Linked DNA regions of Homo sapiens: all the other regions are linked to region 4. The links are contacts of gene promoters, found by promoter capture Hi-C in blood cells and fetal thymus (Javierre and others, 2016). All regions are on one chromosome and are shown on one strand. The core of a region is centred on a gene start or on the middle of the fragment in contact, and the rest is flanking DNA. Distances in the headings are between cores, read along the strand shown. Region 1 overlaps AIMP1 (aminoacyl tRNA synthetase complex interacting multifunctional protein 1). Region 2 overlaps AIMP1 (aminoacyl tRNA synthetase complex interacting multifunctional protein 1). Region 3 overlaps TBCK (TBC1 domain containing kinase). Region 4 holds the start of PAPSS1 (3'-phosphoadenosine 5'-phosphosulfate synthase 1). Region 5 overlaps TBCK (TBC1 domain containing kinase).

Region 1 (3,821 bases), core at 892-3,391, 1.4 Mb after region 4:
GGGCAGAGACACTCCTCAGTTCCCAGACAGGGTCGCGGCCGGGCAGAGGCGCTCTTCACATCTCAGACGGGGCGACGGGGCAGAGATGCTCCCCACATCCCAGATGATGGGCGGCTGGGCAGAGACGCTCCTCACTTCCTAGACAGGATGACGGCCGGGAAGAGGTGCTCCTCACTTCCCAGACTGGGCGGCCGGGCAGAGGGGCTCCTCACATCCCCGACGATGGGCGGCCAGGCAAAGACGCTCCTCACTTCCTAGACGGGGTGGCGGCCGGGCAGAGGCTGCAATCTCGGCACTTTGGGAGGCCAAGGCAGGCGGCTGGGAGGTGGAGGTTGTAGCGAGCCAAGATCACGCCACTGCACTCCAGCATGGGCAACATTGAGCACTGAGTGAGCGAGACTCCGTCTGCAATCCCGGCACCTCAGGACGCCGAGGCTGGCAGATCACTCGCGGTCAGGAGCTGGAGACCAGCCCGGCCAACACGGTGAAACCCCGTCTCCACCAAAAAATACAAAAACCAGTCAGGAGTGGCGGCGCGCACCTGCAATCCCAGGAACTCGGCAGACTGAGGCAGGAGAATCAGGCAGGGAGGTTGCAGTGAGTCAAGATGGTGGCAGTACAGTCCAGCCTCGGCTCGGCATCAGAGGGAGACGGTGCGGAGAGGGAGAGGGAGAGGGAGAGGGCTATACTTTTCTTAATTTAAAAAATTACTTGTACCTGATTTCACCTCCTACTTCCTTGTCACCTCCTTTCAGGGCTCCTTTTTTTTTTAATCTGTCCCATTAATGATGCTGTTCTTCAGGGTTTGGTCTTAATCACTAATCTTTTCTAGGGATCACAAACTAGCCTGACAAAGTTCAGGGATAGCTTTCTTTTCCAGGGCTAACAGTGTTGGAAATAACTGATGTGAATGTCTTTAAGTAAGACAGACAGACACTTTACTACTCCCTGTTGTCTGCCATTTATATTACCTACCAGGCTCCTAAAATAAGTTCATGACCCCAACTTTACACTCCCTGATTTTGTGTCATGTGCTGGGTTTATAGTAGAGAACAAAAATAAACATGTTCTTTGAACTAACTAAGCTTTCAGACAAATGGGGGAAACACAGTTGAAGACATTTTTAAAATAATGTTACGCTTAGGGCACAGTGATAGTTTAACAACAATACTGCTTAAAGCTCAAACAAATCTTTTACCATTCAACCCAGTGCTCATTTCATTAATCTCTATGCTAATTACTCCCCTGTGATTTTTCAATTTTACATTGAGTATAAGTCAACCTTCAAAATTTTAAATCCTCAGAGTTTCTAATATGTATAAAGTTTCTCATAGATGATAATAACAACTACATATATTTGTAGAACATGCGCTATGGCTGGCTAAATGCTTTACACAAGTCAATTTCGAATACTGTAATAATCTCCATTATACAGAGAAGAAAACTTGAATTAAAATTAATTTGCCTCATGTAATACATAGTAAACGAGGATTGAAACTCAGGTCTGTCTGATGCTGCAGTTAGCTCTTTTAATGCTCTAGCTATAATTTCTCTAAAGGATATAATTACGAAGCATTTTCCAATATATTTAATGACAGAATCCTAACACAGGAACAGCTATTAACATTTATTTGAACTAGTATTCTCTAAAACAGTTTAGGAAATGCTAGTTTAAGTCTCTGGACTAAAATGTAAAAAAATTAAGACTGTGAGATTAAAATAGATATAAGAATGACATGCACAGTAATTGAAAATATAAAACATTTATGAAGAGAGAAGCACAGAAAACTGTAGACCAAGTATGTTAATTGTGTTTGGTGAGGATCAAGACCTTTTCTTTTTCCTTTACTAAATTAAAATGGTAATAATGCATTTTTTAGGACAAAAGCTTTTGAAACATATTATCTAAATCATTCTGTCCCTTCACATTAATTTTGTCCTTCTCAATGTTAATTATCATACTTCATCAAACCTAAAAAGCCATTAATCATACGATGCCTCTAATGCAGAATCCCAAATACTGTACATGAATTTATAGTACATCTTAATCATTAAAATACACACACAAAAGATGATTTTTGAGATTCTGAGATCTTCACTATCATTTTTGTTTACTGAGCAATTTCCTCAGTAGTCCTCCCCACCCACACCATCTAAATTGCCTGCAATCTTTTTGAAAAAGCAAAATCTCTGCCCCACGATGACAACATTGGGAATCAAACATAAGTAAGTTACTACTTTGAAATCAAAGTTTTACAGGCAGACTTTTAATTTTAGAATTCTTATGCTATATAGGAACGCTACACAAATTTGAAAGTGTCTCTACTCAAAACCTCTAATTTCCCTATTTCAGAATTACAGTAGGTAAAAATTTACATTTTTGTTGGAAGCTTTAAATACTATACAAGAAATCTAAAATGCCATCAATTGTAAAATGGCTTCAATCCCAAGAAGCTCTATTATTTTATGTACATTATGAAAAAAAACACTATTGAATCAACTGACCCAATGCTTTCTTATTACTTAGACACATCCTATATTATTTATTGACAGACTTCTTTTAAATTTAACCCTGGATTTTTATCTTGTATCACCCTTTGTTTCCCCACATACACAGTAACTTTTCATTCTAATGCTAATCATAATCTTCTAAATGATCTTTAAAAGGGAAATTACACTCAACAACTATATGCCAATAGTGCATATATAACTCAACTGAAATAATGACAAGATTAAGTTATGACTAAGTGGGTGTAAGTGTGGGCAATGACAAATATCTCACAACTGCCAATTCATCTACAGTGATTTAAAGATGTCAACAACTTAAAAATACATCCCTATTTCAGAGATGTTAAGTAAGAGAAAAATGTGTATCTCAGAATTGATGGAATATAGTAATTTTAATCATTTTCTTCCTTTCTTCTCCTCCCTTCATTCCTATTCTTGCCTTCCAACTTCTTTCCCTGATTTGCTACACAATCTAATTACTGGATATGTAAAAATATTATAGTATACATAAAATACCCCACACTGAAAGACCGTCCTTATTATAGTGTAAAGCAATGTGGTACCTTTTAGCACTAGGTGAAAATTCCTGCTAGGATTTAAATCATATGTGTCAAAAGTCAGAATTTAAAGAAGAAAATTAAATACACTGAGAACAATGCATCTGAAGACACTCAAAATATGTAAGCGCAGCAACCAGCAGTAATTCCCTAGGTCTTTTATCAACCTTTGCCAAAACCTATAAAAAGAATATCTAAAATTGCTTTTTTATGGAAGTTCCTATTTCCCTTACCAGACAGCCTGCTTTCCCTTTACTGATGAGGACATAGGGGGTCCTGGAGGGTTTAAAGGATGGCTATAAGGAATGACTATAGGGTGGACAGCTATGAGAGGCCAGTCCATGCATTTCTAAATACCATCGTCATTAACACAAAAACTTTCCTCCCCAGTACAGAGTCCATAAAATTTAAAAAGGAGTATGCCTTGGCCTCCCATGACCCTCTTACCTCACAATAAGGCCATCTTTTACCTGGTTAAGATTTGCAGACTAGACCCATTACATACCTTGTCATTAAATACCTATAATATACCCTAACCTTTGCAATCTTGACAGATGTGATTTCCATTTTATAGACAGATCCAGGAAAATTACATGACTTATCTGAATCCCTTCAAGTACCACATAGCAAAGCCATGATTTTAACTTGTGTTTGCCACTCTGAAACTCACACTGGAATTCATTTTTCAAGTGTCCTCCAAAGCCTAATTAAATAAAATTAACCCTGTCATCTATAATACTCTTACATATCCAAATT
Region 2 (3,527 bases), core at 395-2,894, 1.4 Mb after region 4:
CACACATTATGAAGCTTCATCTGTCTCAGGAGTATTTTTATTAGAGAAAACAGGCAATACAAAATGAAACTTCCTTTTAGATTATTAAAATCATTACATTTTAACTTAGATATTTTCTCTATATCCTGAATTTGAGTAAAAACATATGCAAGTATATTATTAGATGGAATTTATAATTATAAATCTAAACTTTTCATCTCTGTCTTTCTGTGCTGCAGCATGAGACAATCTACAGCATAAGAGATTTTGCAGCACATTAATCTGTTCTCTATCCACGTCATACTTTTCTGCTACGCTGGTATTAATATTATTGCTTTAGTTAGGACAAAATCTCTCTGTGGTGTTCTGTTAGTCTGTTCTCATGCTGCTAATAAAGATACATCCAAGGTTGGGTAATTTCTAAAGGAAAGAGGTTTAATTGACTCACAGTTCCACATGGCAGTGGAGGCCGCCACATGGCAGAAGGTTAAAGAGGAGCATGTGTTACATGGCAGCAGGCAAGAGAGCACGTGTAGGGGAATTGCCCTTTTATAAAACCATCAGCTCTCATGAGACTTTTTCACTATCATGAGAACAGCACAGGAAAAACCCTCCCCCAGGATTCAATTACCTCCTACCAGGTCCCTCCCACGACAGGTGAAAATTGTGGGAGCTATAATTCAAGATGAGATTTGGGTGGGGACACAGCCAAACCATATCATTCTGCCCCTGGCCCCTCCCAAATCTCATGTCCTCACATTTCAAAACCAATCATGCCTTCCCAACAGTTCCCCAAAGTCTTAACTCATTTCAGTATTAACTCAAAAGCCCACAGTCCAGCATCTCATCTGAGACAAGACAAGTCCCTTCTGCCTATGAGCCATAAAATCAAAAGCAAGTTAGTTACTTCCAGAATACATTGGGGGTACAGGCATTGGGTAAATACACCATTCCAAATGGGAGAAATTGGACCAAAACAAAGGGCCCATAGGCCCCATGCAAGTCTGGAATCCAACAGGGTAGTCATCAAACCTCAAAGTTCCAAAATGATCTCCTTTGACGCCATGTCTCACACGCAGGTCATGCTGATGCAACAGGTGGGCTCCCACAGCCTTGGGCAGCTCTACCCCTGTGGCTTTGTAGGGCACAGCCACCATCCCAGCTGCTTTCACAGGCTGGAGTTGAATGTCTGCAGCTTTTCCAGGCACACTGCGGAAGCTGTCAGTGGATTTATGATTCTAGGGTCTGGAGGACAGTGGCCCTCTTCTCACAGCTCCACTAGGCAGTGCCCCAGTGGGGATTCTGTGTGTGGGGGGGTCCCATCCCACAGTTCCTTTCTGCACTGTCTTAGTAGAGGTTCATGACGGCCCTGCCCCTAGAGCAAATTTCTGCCAGGACATCCAGGGGCTTCCATACATCTTCTGAAATCTAGGCGGAGGTTCCCGAACCTCAGTTCTGTGCCTCTGCAGGCTCAACACCATGTGGAAGCTGTCAAGGCTTAGGGCTTGCACTCTCTGAAGCAAGGGCCTGAGCTGTACCTTAGCCCTTTTTAGCCATGGCTGCAGCAGCTGGGAAGCAGGGCACCAAGTCCCTAAGCTGCACACAGCACGGGGGCCCTGGGCCCAGCCCAGGAAACCATTTTTTCTTCCTAGGCCTCAGGTTCTGTGATAGGAGGGGCTGCTGTGAAGGTCTTTGAAATGCCCTGGAGACATTTTCCCCATTGTCTTGGCAATTAACATTTGGCTCTTCATTGCTTATGCAAATTTCTGCAGCTGGCAGAAATGGGTTTTTCTTTTCTACTGCATCTTCAGTCTGAACATTTTTCAAACTTTTATGCTCTGCTTCCCTTTTAAACATGTTCCAATTCCAAACCATGTCTTTGTGAATGAATACAACTGAATGCTTAAGAGCACCCAAGTCACCTCTTAAATGCTTTGCTGCTTAGAAATTTCTTCTGCCAGATACCCTAACTCATCTTTCTCAAGTTCAAAGTTCCATAGATCTCTAGGGAAAGGGCAAAATGCCACCAGTCTCTTTGCTAAAGTATAGCAAAAGTCACTTTTGCTTCAGTTCCCAACAAGCTCCTCATCTCTATCTGAGACCACCTCAGCCTGGACTGTATTGTCCGTATCACTATCAGCATTTTGGTCAAAGCCATTCAACAAGTCTCTAGAAAGTTCCAAACTTTCCCACATTTTCCTATCTCCTGAGCCCTGAAAGTATCCAGGAAGTCCCAAACTGTTCCACATTTTCCTATCTTTTTCTGAACCCTCCAAACTGTTCCAATCTCTGCCTGTTACCCAGTTCCAAAGTCGCTTCCACACTTTCGGATATCTTTACAGCAGTGTCCCTACTACCCAGTATCAATTTACTGTATTAGTCTATTCTCACGCTGCTAATAAAGATATACTCGAGGCTGGGTAATTTATAAAAGAAAGAGGTTTAATTGACCAACAGTTCCACATGGCTGCAGAGGCCTCACGATCATGGCAGAAGACAAAGGAGGAGCAAAGGCATGTCTTATATAGTAGCAGACAAGAGAGCATGCGTAGGGGAACTGCCCTTTTATAAAACCATGAGATCTCATGAGACTTATTCACTATCATGAGAACAGCACAGGTAAAACCTGCCCCCAGGATTCAGTTACCTCCCACCGGGTCCCTCCCATGACATGTAGGGATTATGGGAACTACAATTCAAGATGAGATTTTGGTGGGGACATAGTCAAACCATATCAGGTGTTTTATACAACATGTACATTCATGGGGAGGAGAATGATTACAAGGTTTACTCAATGTGTCATCTTGAGCCAATCTTGAAAAACTCAATAATAGTTAATAATGGTCATTAATGTAAGACTCATGATTCTTACACAGGACTGATTTTAACCTTTAAGCATTACAAACATCACTTTGAGAACTGATTCCGAAACTATTAAGTAATTACTAATAAATACCTACCTGGGAAAGCATCAAAAGTAATTCTGTCTCCAGGAACAGACCCATTTGGAGGAGCCAAGATTTCAATTTTCTCTGGTGAACTAGCACACATGACCATTGCTTGAGATAATACTCCCCTCATCTTTGCAGGTTTCAGGTTACAAAGTAAAATCACCATCCGATTTTGCATCTGTGTGAAATATAAACTGGTAAGTAAAGATGTACACAGATTAAGCCTAATCATATCCAGACTACATTAAGCTACACCTAATATGCTAAGTATCAAATGTTCTACTTTTGTGGATGTACCTTTGTCTTTGTGTGCCCAAAGTCTCTTATTGTTGTTACGAAGCTTTGCATAAACATGAAAAAAAAATTCCTCCAAATTGATAACGCATTATGGTTGAAAGAGCAGAGGAATTTCAGTTAAAAATTTACTCAATGAATAAATGAGTGAAACAGACTTGGTTTTGAATTTCAGCTGCCATGTACTAGCAATGAGAATGCATAAAGTTGACACTCCTGTTTCCTCAAAAAATGAGAGAAATAATATTGAAGAGTTGTCATAAGGATTAAATCATAACATGCATAATAAAGCATTTAGCCTAG
Region 3 (3,879 bases), core at 179-2,678, 1.4 Mb after region 4:
ATGTTTTCACATGTTATGTTAGCTCAGAAGTCTAGCTTTCACTGTTTTCTATAGATCATTCGAAACTAATCAAAGATGATAATATTTTCTTGCTAACTCAGCAGGATGAAGTTTTTAATCTCAGGAATGGCAAACATTTTATTAGAGTTTCAGAATTTTTTTTCTAATAGGAGAAAAATATCTTTAGGAGAAAAAAAGCCAGTAAAGCCTGAAAATACTATGTTAACAAATTTTATCTTTTCTTGTGAGCTTGAAATCTCAGCTGTGTTTAGAAGCAGAGTGAAGATGGTAAATGGTAGTGCATCCTTTTTTATTTGGTATTGATTATCCAGAAATCTTTCAATGATTGCTGGTGAAATCAAGAATAAAAATTATTTTATTTGAAATTAAAGTAGAGAATAATAGAATTATATGGAACTACAAGATAATTTATTCTGTATCTCTAGCATATAAATTTTAATCTGTATTAGTTTCATAAGAGAAACAGAACAAATTATATATATAATTATATAAGTTATTTATGTAAGTTATATGAATATATAAAAAAGAATTGCTGGGAATTGGTTTGCATGATTGTGGGGTGCTGCTAGGCAAGTTTGAAATCCATGAGGCAGGTCTTCAAGAAGGACAAGCTGAACTCTTGGGCAGAAGCTCAAGCTGTCATCCACAGTTGGAATTTATTGTTCTTCATGGAAGCTTCAATTCTGCTCATATTTATTTATTATTTATTTATTTATTTTTCAGAGACAGGAGTCTCACTATATTGCCCAAGCTGGTCTTGAACTCCTGGCTTAAAGTGATCCTCCCGTCTCAGCCTCTCATGTAGCTGGGATTATAGGTGTGAGCCAGTGTACTTGGCTTTCAATTCTGCTCTTAAAGGCTATTAAACTGATTGAATCAGGATTACCCTGATTATCTAGGATAATTTCCCTTAAAGTAAACTGATTATAGACTTTACTCATTTACAAAATAATTTCACAGCAACATCTAGATTAGTATTTGATTGAATGACTGGATTCTATATTCTAGCTAAGCTGACTCATAAAACTGACCATCACAGTGTTCTGGTACCAATACTATTCTTTAAGCATAATGTTTTTCTTTGTTGGTTTTGAACTGTATAAACACTTATTGAAATATCATATTTTAAAGGTGATGAGCTAGTCTCGATTTTTACTGTTAATAACAAAAGTGATGCAGTAAATATATTGTAATAACCCTTTATATTATTTTAAGACATTCATGATTCACCTCTTTCTCTAAATTTAAACAAAAAAACCACTACTTTAAAAAACTTTATTTTACTTCCCCCTACTCCTTATTCAACTCCTTTATTCTTGCTTAAATGTGTGTTCTCTTCAGTTTCTTAGTGTTAACTTTGTATTAGCCTGTTTTCACACTGCTGATAAAGACATACCCAAAACTAGGTAATTTGTACAGGAAAAACGTTTAATGGACTTACAGTTCCACGTGGCTGGTGGGGCCTCACATTCATGGTGGAAGGCAAGGAGGAGCAAGTCACGTCTTACATGGATAGCAGCAGGCCAAAAAAAGAGAACTTGTGCAAGGAAACTCCCCCTTATAGAACCATCAGATCTCATGAGACTTATTAATTATCACAAGAACAGCATGGGAAAGACCTCCCCTGTGATTCAATTACCTCCCACTGGGTCCCTCCCACAACACGTGAGAATTCAAGATGAGATTTGGGTGGGAACACAGCCAAGCCCTGTCAAACCTAAAACACACAGTTCAGGCTAGAGACGCTACATCATACTTTTGCTTCCTCAAATCTTTGTTAGAAGTAAGACTATTTCACAATTATTGTATATTCTACTCTTTAAAGTTCATCTTAGCATCACATTATTTTTTATAAATAATGCTACTACATTGATGATTTATATTTGGCACATTATGATTCCTAAATGCTTTATTCTGTGAAACTATATTGTTTTTATAACATGTTATTTTTAAACAGTGGTCCAGAGATTTCAGAATGAAGACTCTCTAAAGATTTCTTTAAAAAAATGGTTCATATTGGAAATATTGTTTTGGTATACACTCCATTATCTCTGGGAGAAACTTTGATGTTCTGCTGAGGATTATGGCTCAGCAGTATTAAAACTATGCTTAATAGTTCCATAGAATCTTGAAGCTTTGGCAAACACTTGTTTATGATGTTTTGAAGGGGTTTCCAGAAACCTGAAAAATTTTAGTTGTGCCAGATACTTTGGAAATCTCTTATAGATATGAAGAATTATGAATATCCAATTTAAAATGGTTAATTAATGGAATATGCACATTTTAATAAATTATTTTGTTTTTGTTTTACATGAAAGTCAGTGCTACTGAGTTATACTGAGTTTATAACGTGGGCATGTAATTTTCTACACAGGACAGGGCTCTGTTCAGTGACTGTGGTCATATGAGATTCTTCATTTCTAATGGCCACATCATGCCTTTGCTAAAGTTAATTCATCTAACAGTTATCTTTATATTACATGCCTATATGTTGTAGGTGACATTCTAGACACCTGTGATGCAGTACACCTGTGTGCACTAGGCTCCTGTGATGTACTACTGTGATGCACCTGTGTGCAACTACTGATGCACTGCTAGGCACCTGTGATGAGACCCACCTCATTCCTGCCATCATAAAATATATTATCTGATAGGAAAAAAGATATCACAGTAGGCCCCCCTTTTCCTCAGGGGATATGTTCCAAGAAGGCCCCCAGCACCCCCAGTGGATGTCTAAAACTGAGGATTGTACCGAATCTGATTCTTATCAGTCAGAACGTGTTTCTTCTGTTTATGTCTTCTACTCACAAATTTAATGCCTTTTCCATCTTAACTAGACACTTCTCTTGCAATGTGGTCATAATTTTGTAGTTTGAGGCGTGAGAGCAAAACTGGTATGATTTTCTTTTTTCTTCACAATTTCACGAATAGAAAATTTCTTACCATGTATCTTAACAACTGGTTTTTTTTCTTTCCTTATCAAGTCGAGAACTTTCACCTTTTCACTTGAAGGAAGCACTTTTCGTCTTCTTTTTTTTGTTGTTGTTTTTGAGACAGTCTTGCTCTGTTGCCCAGGCTGGAGTGCAGTGGCAGGATCTCGGCTCACTACAAGCTCTGCCTCCCGGGTTCATGCCATTCTCCTGCCTCAGCCATCGAGTAGCTGGGACTACAGGCACCTGCCACCACGCCTGGCTAATTTTTTTTTTTTTTTCATATTTTTAGTAGAGACAAGGTTTCACTGTGTTAGCCAGGGTGGTCTCCTGACCTCGTGATCCGCCTGCCTCCCAAAGTGCTGGGATTACAGGCGTGAGCTACCGTGCCCGGCCACGTCTTCTTTTTGGCATATATTAATTGCTGGTGAGAGATTTCACTGTGCTACTCAGAATGGCATGCAATTTAAAACTTAGGAATTTTTTATTTCTAGAATATTCCATTTAAAATGTTTGGAAACTGCAGAAAGTAAAACCATGGATAAGGTGGAGTTACTGATGATGCTGGCTGGACCAAAATAAGAATGCATACAAATTATTAGAGTTGAAACAAGTGCTACAAAACAAAATTAAAATGTAGAATAGAGTATGTTGTAGGACAGCAAATCGATGTTGGGGGGATGAGAGAAGTGTCCCTTGAGGAAGTCACATTTAACTGAGCCCTGAATAATGAGTAATAATAAAAGCTAACAATCAGCTATTGCTTGTTATGTGCCACACACTATTCTAGGCCTTTATTATATATTAACTCATTTCAACCTCACAACAACCCTGTGAGGCAGGTGGCTATTCTTCTCTTCATCTTACAGAAAAAATCTGGCATAGAGAGGTTAGAAAATTTCCCTGAGGTCACATAGTTAATTAGTAG
Region 4 (3,403 bases), core at 449-2,948:
GCAGGTGCAAGAATGGGGTGTGTGGCGGGGATGTGGAGAGCGGCTGCACAGCTGGGAGGATGTCCAGTGAACGGGCTTAATGATAACTCAGGCTGGATATAGGGGAGGCCTAATTTAAGACAGTAGCAGTGGGGCAAATAGATGGAGGGCTGATTTGCTAGTCACTAACAGGCAGCAGCCTCAGGTCTTGGTGATGGGGGCTGATTTGCTAGTCACTAACAGGCAGCAGCAGCAGCCTCAGGTCTTGGTGATGGGGGCTAATTTGCTAGTCACTAACAGGCAGCAGTCTCAGGTCTTGGTGATGGGCGGGGTCAGGGGCGGAGGGCGGCTGTGTCACAGGGGGGCAGAGCTGCAAGCAACTCTTTTGGTGCCAGGGGCAAGCTGCGGAAAAGAGAACTCAGAGTTATGGGGGGTGTGGGGAAGATAACTCCTGGAGGAAACTCTGTCATGCCCCCAGCCCATCCTCCTACGAACTAGCCCTGGAATAATTAGGTGAATTTGAAAATGTCCTCCGTAGGCGGGAGTTCTATTCGGGGTTACCTGCGGCCTCCCCGGTCCTGGATTTCAGTCCTCTAGGTATTTCCTGAGTAGCTCTTAATAATACAGAAGCCCCTTTCCGGTGTAGGTCGGTAAGAAGCACTGCACAGAAATCTGATGCGAAGTGGGGTCTCCTAGCGGAGAGGGAGGCACCTTATAAGTAATCACTAATCCAGGTTGAGATATTAATTATTGATGTCAAGAAATCGGGCTTTTATTATATCTTTTTAAAAACTGTGTCTTGAGGCCAGGCGCTGTCGCTCACGCCTGGAATCCCAGCACTTTGGGAAGCTGAGGCGGGCGGATCATGAGGTCAGGAATTCGAGACCAGCCTGGCCAACATAGTGAAACCCCGTCTCTACTAAAAATACAAAAATTAGCCGGGCGTGGTGGCACACGCCTGTAGTCCCAGCTACTCGGGAGGCTGAGGCAGGAGAATCGCTTGAACCCGGGAGGCAGAGGTTGCGGTGAGCCGAGATCCTACTACTGCACTCCAGCCTGGGCGACAGAGCAAGACTCCGTCTCAAAAAAAGAAAAAAAATTGTGTCTTGAGTAGAATTTTAATGTGGAGAATGAGCTGTTCGGTAAATCAATTCTTCCCTTTGCAAAGCTGTAAAACATTTAAAACATTTGGCCAGGGTGACATGGGCACAGAAGGGGCAGACAGGAGGTCGGCAGCCAGGTCTGTGGAGGAGTAGCCACAGGTGCAAGAGGCCGCGTCAGCGTCCTCCCAATCAGCCTCTGCTGAGGGAGTGCCGCGCGCGGCGAGCCGCGCACTCCCCTTGCCTTTCTCCCGGCGGCTGGTACTCGCTCTTAGAGATCTGCGTTAGCTCAGAGCTAGGCTCGGTGCCGCAGAGGCACCTGAGGTTCCACGACTGCATTCCAGGCCCCGCCCCTTCATCGGGATCTGGAAGGAGGAGCGCCGTGCGCGCCCGCGCCGGCGCGAGCGCTGAAGCTCCGCCCCCAGCTTCTACCTCCGGTTCTATCCCGGCGTTTCGCCCTTCCCCACAGACCTCTGCCCCGGACCCATTTCCGAGGCGCGCCGCATGCGCCGCGCAACCCAGGCCACGAGCACGGGCGCGTGCTTAAGTCAGCGCGCGCCCGCTCCGACGCGAGGAGGCCCCGCCCTCCAGCCCCGCCCCGCTCGCTGGCCTGCCCTCCTCTTGCTACCCTCCCGGCGCAGAGAACCCCGGCTGCTCAGCGCGCTCCGCGGTCATGGAGATCCCCGGGAGCCTGTGCAAGAAAGTCAAACTGAGCAATAACGCGCAGAACTGGGTAAGCTGGGGACGAAGGCGAGACGGCGAGGAGCGGAGGGGCTGTGGGAGCAGCTCGTTCCGGAGCCGCCGCCTCTCTCCCGCCTCCTCCGCATCCATCCTTCCAGGAGCGCGGAGGTGGGTTCCGGGGCTGCGGCGCCTCCCGGCTGGGGCCGTGGGTGGTTGCGAGGCAGAGGGGCGCGGCGCAGGGTGGGGATCTCGCCCTAGCTTGGCGCAGCGTGCGGTCCGAGCCACCGTTCGTGGGAAGAACGCCCCCCCTCCCCAGCGCCTCCGCTCAGGTAAGACCCCCAGGAAAATCCTTCACCCGTGAACTGGCGCTTGCTGAAACCTCCGGGTGCTGAAACCTGCGGCTGCAGAAACAGGAGCTTCCTGCATACCTTGGAGTGGCCTGAAGATGTGCAGAGAAGGCGGAGGCGGGCGCCTTCGACGCGTTCTTGGTTTTTCTTGGCTCTGCCAGTGCGGTTGGCCCAGGTTTGGGTCCATCTCCGTGTCTTTCCATTTCTGAGTTTCAGTGTGAAAGGAGAGTACCCAACAATGTGGTCATTCATGAGTTGAGACTGCCCTGAACTGAGGTTCTTTGTGTCTCTGTGTTAAATCGGAATGTTTAACAAGTAGGAGTTTGGAAGACTCCATTCCTGGTGACAGTCAGGTATGGGACCAGTCCTTTATAACGTTTAGTAATGACTGCCAGTTGACTTTGTAAAGTGCTGTGTCCTCATAACGTTGCTTACTTCCTTAATTTCTCTGTGATGAGAAAGAGCCTTATCTTCCTTTGTAAGTGTGCAGCAGGGAAGGGCCCATCTTTGGAGTCTGGAAAGGCACTGGTTTAAGTTTAGACGGAAACGTTATTTCACAGTCCAATGGAATAATAAGGTTTAAATGCAATGTCTCCCAAAACGTTACTTGCCCTAGATGAATCAAAGAAAAAAAAAACAAGCAATTTCAGGCAAATGTTCTTTGGAAGTCATTAATTTACCACATCTGTTGTTATTGTTATCATGAGTTGTTTACTGATTCCTCTCTCCTTTTATTTAACTCTATAGATGGTAAGGAGGGGAAGGAGATTTAAAAGATGAATTAGAACAGTGGAAAGAGCGCTGGACTCCTGGCCTGGTCTCTCATCCCAGCTTTGCCATTTACTAGCTGTGTGATCTTGAGGAGAGTCACTTTACTTTTTCGAACCTCAGTTGACTTAAGGGTATAATAGTATGTACTTCACGGGATTGTTTTGATGAACAAAGAAGACAGATCATGAATTTGAATGTGCGGTGAAACCACTGCCTTGAAACTCAGACTCAGTTTCGCTTCTCTTACCTTAAGGTGTTTCACGGTTAGGGAAATAAGGTTGGCTTACTTGGGGTATTTACAGATGATTTCTGTTACATTGTCCATTTATGTACTCATTTATTTATTAACATTTGCCACATGGTGCGTATTCTATGTAGAGACTTGTGCTAGACATGGTGGTGAAAAATGTGGGACTTACTGCTTGCCTTCTGGTAGTTCATGGTTTGTGTTGGGGTTGTGACATTTGCCAAGTGGTGAATATGTCTTTGTGGTCCAGAGTGAGTGGCGTAAGACAGAAGTTTTAT
Region 5 (3,706 bases), core at 298-2,797, 1.4 Mb after region 4:
CTACTAAAAATACAAAAAAAAAATTAGCTGGGTGTGGTGGCATGCGCCTGTAGTCCCAGCCACTCGAGAGGCTGAGGCAGGAGAATGGCATGAACCTGGGAGACGGAGCTTGCAGTGAGCCAAGATCGCACCTCTGCACTCCAGCCTGGGCGACAGAGCAAGACTCTGTCTCAAAAAAAAAAAAAAAAAAAAATTAAATAAACAATGACTTTGGAGCTGAGTAAGCCTAGATATTTTCTTAGTTGAAAAAAAAATTGTCATCAGCGTCAAAAGAAATTAAGTTGATGAGTTCTTTCTATGAACTTATTCTTGGAAGAGAAAGGATGATGGGGGCTATACACACATTAAGAAACGTATGTAGCACGGAAAGAAACCAATATTTGAGTACCTACTTTATACCAGGCTCTATAAGCATGTTATATTTAAACTTTACCACATAGCTGTACTGGCGGTTATTATTACTTCATTTTAAAGATTAAGAAAGATACTTAGAGGTTAGATGACAATTAGAAAAAGATAGCCCAGGGGTTTAAACTTTGTTCTGTTTAAATCTAAAACCTATTATCTTTGTTCTATACTATACCTTCCTGTATACCTGAAAGTGAAACAGGTTCATTTATATTCGCCTTCTACGACAGCGGTTCTCAAAGTGTGGTTCATCATCATTATCACCTGGGAACTTATTAGAAATATAAATTCTTGGGACTCATCTTAGATACTATATCAGAATTGCAGGGAGTAGAACCCAGCAGTATCTATATTAATGAGCCCTTAAGGTGATTCTGTACCATTGCTTTTGATGAAAGGTTCTTAAAATTCTTCCATTGGTGGGAAACCTAGAAATCAATGTGCTCTTTGTAGAACAATATGAGATACTGACTTATACAACTTAAGAACAGTTGTTTTTTTGTTTTGTTTTTTTTTTTTTTTGGGACAAAGTCTTGCTCTATCGCCCAGATTGGAGTGCAGTGGCGCGATCTCAGCTCACTGCAACCTCTGCCTCCTGGGTTCAAGCAATTCTCCTGCCTCAGCCTCCCAAGTAGCTGGGATTACAGGCTCCCACCACCACACATGGCTAATTTTTGTATTTTTAGTAGAGATGGGGTTTTGCCATGTTGGTTAGTCTGGTCTGGAACTCCTGACCTCAGGTGATCCTCCTGCCTTGGCCTCCCAAAGTGCTGGGATTACAGGTGTGAGCCACCACTGTTAAGAACAGTTTTAAAGTATTTGAGCTAAATTAGCTACCATCTTATAGATTCTGGTTGAAATAAGTGATTGCAGATATTGCACAAGAAAACAACACACACAGGAGAACCTAAAATTAAGAATCCATATTTATTAATATTATATTTTTTGTGAATTGGTAAAAGATAACTATTCTCCAATTTTTACACAGTATTCCTGGGTCATTATGGGATTATATGGATAAGAGCTTTTTCTTACTCTTTTTTGTGAAGCTTGCTGTAATTGGTATGATCTTCCTTATATCATAGTATTGAGAACTGAAAGTCTAGTTCAAGGTTAGGTGAAATAGACAGAACTAACTAATTCAAGGTGATCTGGTTTAGGGAAAAGTATTTATTTATATAGGTAAGCAGAACTCAGAGTTCTACATTAAAATTTGGAGACAAAGCTTTGGCTATTAAAGTATTATTTTGCTTTGTCTGCCTTCCTATTTATGAATCATAGGAAGCTTATGGAGTCTAGTAGAAGTAGTTAAGAATAAAATTTGGCTATTTTTGGATTTTCTGATCTAAATATAATCACTGTATCACCCCAACTGCTGACAAATACAAGGGACGTGGTAAATAGGGTTTTTTCAGCAATCATACTGGTCATAAGTTACTTAAGACAGACCAATACTTATTTAACTGAACATTTCAGTTTGACAAACTTTTGTTTACAATATGCTGTCTTGCAGATGCTGTAATAAGCAATCCATATTATTCAGGCCCTCTCCCATTCATTATTTGAGATGGGTAGGGTGATAAATTAGTCATCTAAAATATTAGTCCACTTAAAAATGTGAATTGGTCTCAAATCAAAATTCTGAACAGTAATAGAAATTTGTTTCTCTTTTTTTCACATGGCAATATATACATTAATTTTAATTTAAAAAACAACTTTGGAATGATGCAGGGTACAGATTTAACCCACTATATGCCATGATAAGTTCTGTCTTAGAGAAAAGTTGCAGTCTTCCAACATCCCAAATGCTGCCAGGGTATGGGGAGTTGGACTTATTACCTAGTGTGTTTGCACAGCCAGAATTAGTGACTATGATGACAAAAGAGGTTTTGAAGTTTCTGTGCAAGGATAGGAAAAAATGCTTAGGAGAAGAAAACATTGATGGGGCAGAAATATGCAGCCAATCTTGAGATCCTCCAGACCTGTGTATCAAATGGTGATTTTATTCTCACAGAGAAGTTAGAAAACGGTTCTTCTGATTCAGTTATGTCAGGAGAATAGTTGGAGAACTCAACTTGCAATTTTTGTTAATTTATAGGATATATACATATGATATAACAAAATATATTGTATAGTTTCAGAAAAACCCTGGGATTTTTGAGGGAGACTTGGACTTTTTGTTTATTTTGTTTTGCTTTTAAGATGATTAAGATTCTGTGCAGGGCCGATAGCTCATTGATCTCCATTTAGCTTCTGTTTGGTGTTACATTTTTTACTTTATAAATTTGCAAATGGAGGCAGGGTGAAGTTGGAACACTGTCTAAGCATAACAAATCAGTGACAGAGCCTCCTGGCTTTATGTCTGAACCTCAAACCGCTAGACTATGTTTTCCATATGTATTTGATTTTACCAAGTTAATTTTCTGCTGAGAAGAAAAGTTATCTAGTATTCAAGTTGGAAAGTTAATTTCCCAATTTATTGTCTCCTGTTGAGAATTAGACACATTCCAGACTTACAGGGTTCTATTTTGATTATTTTGGAGTTAAAGCTAAATTGTAAAATATGCCTAGTCTCACAACTGAAAGTCAGATGGACTGATTACTTTTTTTAGACTTACTATAAAACAATCTTTAGGTAGCAGTTTATCAATGCAATTTCCATTTCAAAACATCTGAATCTGAGGCAAATACATTCTTAAATTTAGCATGGATAGTTGTGTCCTTTCAGGCTAAAACATGTGTGCCCAGTACTGAAATGTGTTATTTCCTTTTTCAATTCCAGAAACTGTTGTATTTTTCATCCTTTTTGCTCTGTTAAATATTGTGGTATTTTTTTACAAAACATCAAAATTTAGTAAGTGATAAGTGTCAAATTAAAAGCCTCAAAGACACTAGCTCATCATTGGAAACACCCTCCCCAAATTCTGGAATTATAAACTAATGAGTCTTTAAAAGTTATATACTAGCTGAGCTCTTTTGTGTTCAAGTTATAAAGGAAAGTTTCTTTGAAGATAGCACAGAATTATTCACTTGTAATATTATCTGAACATTAATCATTAGTAAGCATTTTATTTTTCCTCTCCATTTCTTAAATTACACAGTAGCTAACCATTAATATATTTCATCTGTATTTCCTCTCTCTTAACATTTTAATTCAGGCTGATACCAAGTAAGGAATGTTTTAGACCAAAAGGAAAATTTCTGTGGGAGTGATCAGGTTTTATAAGGTGAAAGAACATCTTGAACTCATAGAATGCAGAAATGTGTTTCCTCCCTTGGTTAGCTGACACTATGGGTG

The links. Contacts are between HindIII fragments. The CHiCAGO score rates a contact against its expected background, and 5 or more counts as called.
Region 1: a fragment that was not itself captured here is called in contact with the fragment with the promoter of PAPSS1 in region 4 in 8 of 17 cell types (total B cells, naive B cells, total CD8 T cells and 5 more); the score reaches 21.1 in total B cells.
Region 2: a contact is called between a fragment that was not itself captured here and the fragment with the promoter of PAPSS1 in region 4, in 6 of 17 cell types (naive CD8 T cells, total CD4 T cells, total CD8 T cells and 3 more). The highest score is 8.4, in naive CD8 T cells.
Region 3: a contact is called between a fragment that was not itself captured here and the fragment with the promoter of PAPSS1 in region 4, in 5 of 17 cell types (naive CD8 T cells, naive B cells, activated CD4 T cells and 2 more). The highest score is 6.4, in naive CD8 T cells.
Region 5: a contact is called between a fragment that was not itself captured here and the fragment with the promoter of PAPSS1 in region 4, in 1 of 17 cell types (total CD8 T cells). The highest score is 6.9, in total CD8 T cells.

What each region holds. Positions count from the first base shown.
Region 1 is chr4:106,317,610-106,321,430 of GRCh38, reverse strand. All of the region lies in intron 1 of AIMP1 (aminoacyl tRNA synthetase complex interacting multifunctional protein 1), which reads right to left. Among named protein-coding and RNA genes, the nearest start is that of AIMP1, 3.0 kb to the right of the region's middle. The HindIII fragment of the contact is 502 bases long and covers 1,891-2,392 here.
Region 2 is chr4:106,336,450-106,339,976 of GRCh38, reverse strand. It overlaps AIMP1 (aminoacyl tRNA synthetase complex interacting multifunctional protein 1), which reads right to left. Exons shown (of 7, transcript NM_001142416.2): 6 at 2,940-3,108. Among named protein-coding and RNA genes, the nearest start is that of AIMP1, 22 kb to the right of the region's middle. The HindIII fragment of the contact is 3,256 bases long and covers 17-3,272 here.
Region 3 is chr4:106,297,800-106,301,678 of GRCh38, reverse strand. The region is part of intron 2 of TBCK (TBC1 domain containing kinase); the gene reads left to right. Among named protein-coding and RNA genes, the nearest start is that of TBCK, 16 kb to the left of the region's middle. The HindIII fragment of the contact is 1,459 bases long and covers 699-2,157 here.
Region 4 is chr4:107,718,529-107,721,931 of GRCh38, reverse strand. It overlaps PAPSS1 (3'-phosphoadenosine 5'-phosphosulfate synthase 1), which reads left to right and starts at 1,698. Exons shown (of 12, transcript NM_005443.5): 1 at 1,698-1,812. The coding sequence starts at 1,753. RefSeq lists enhancers at 246-395, 2,386-2,445 and a silencer at 1,506-1,755. The HindIII fragment of the contact is 5,198 bases long and covers 1-3,403 here.
Region 5 is chr4:106,268,976-106,272,681 of GRCh38, reverse strand. The region is part of intron 3 of TBCK (TBC1 domain containing kinase); the gene reads left to right. Among named protein-coding and RNA genes, the nearest start is that of TBCK, 45 kb to the left of the region's middle. The HindIII fragment of the contact is 176 bases long and covers 1,460-1,635 here.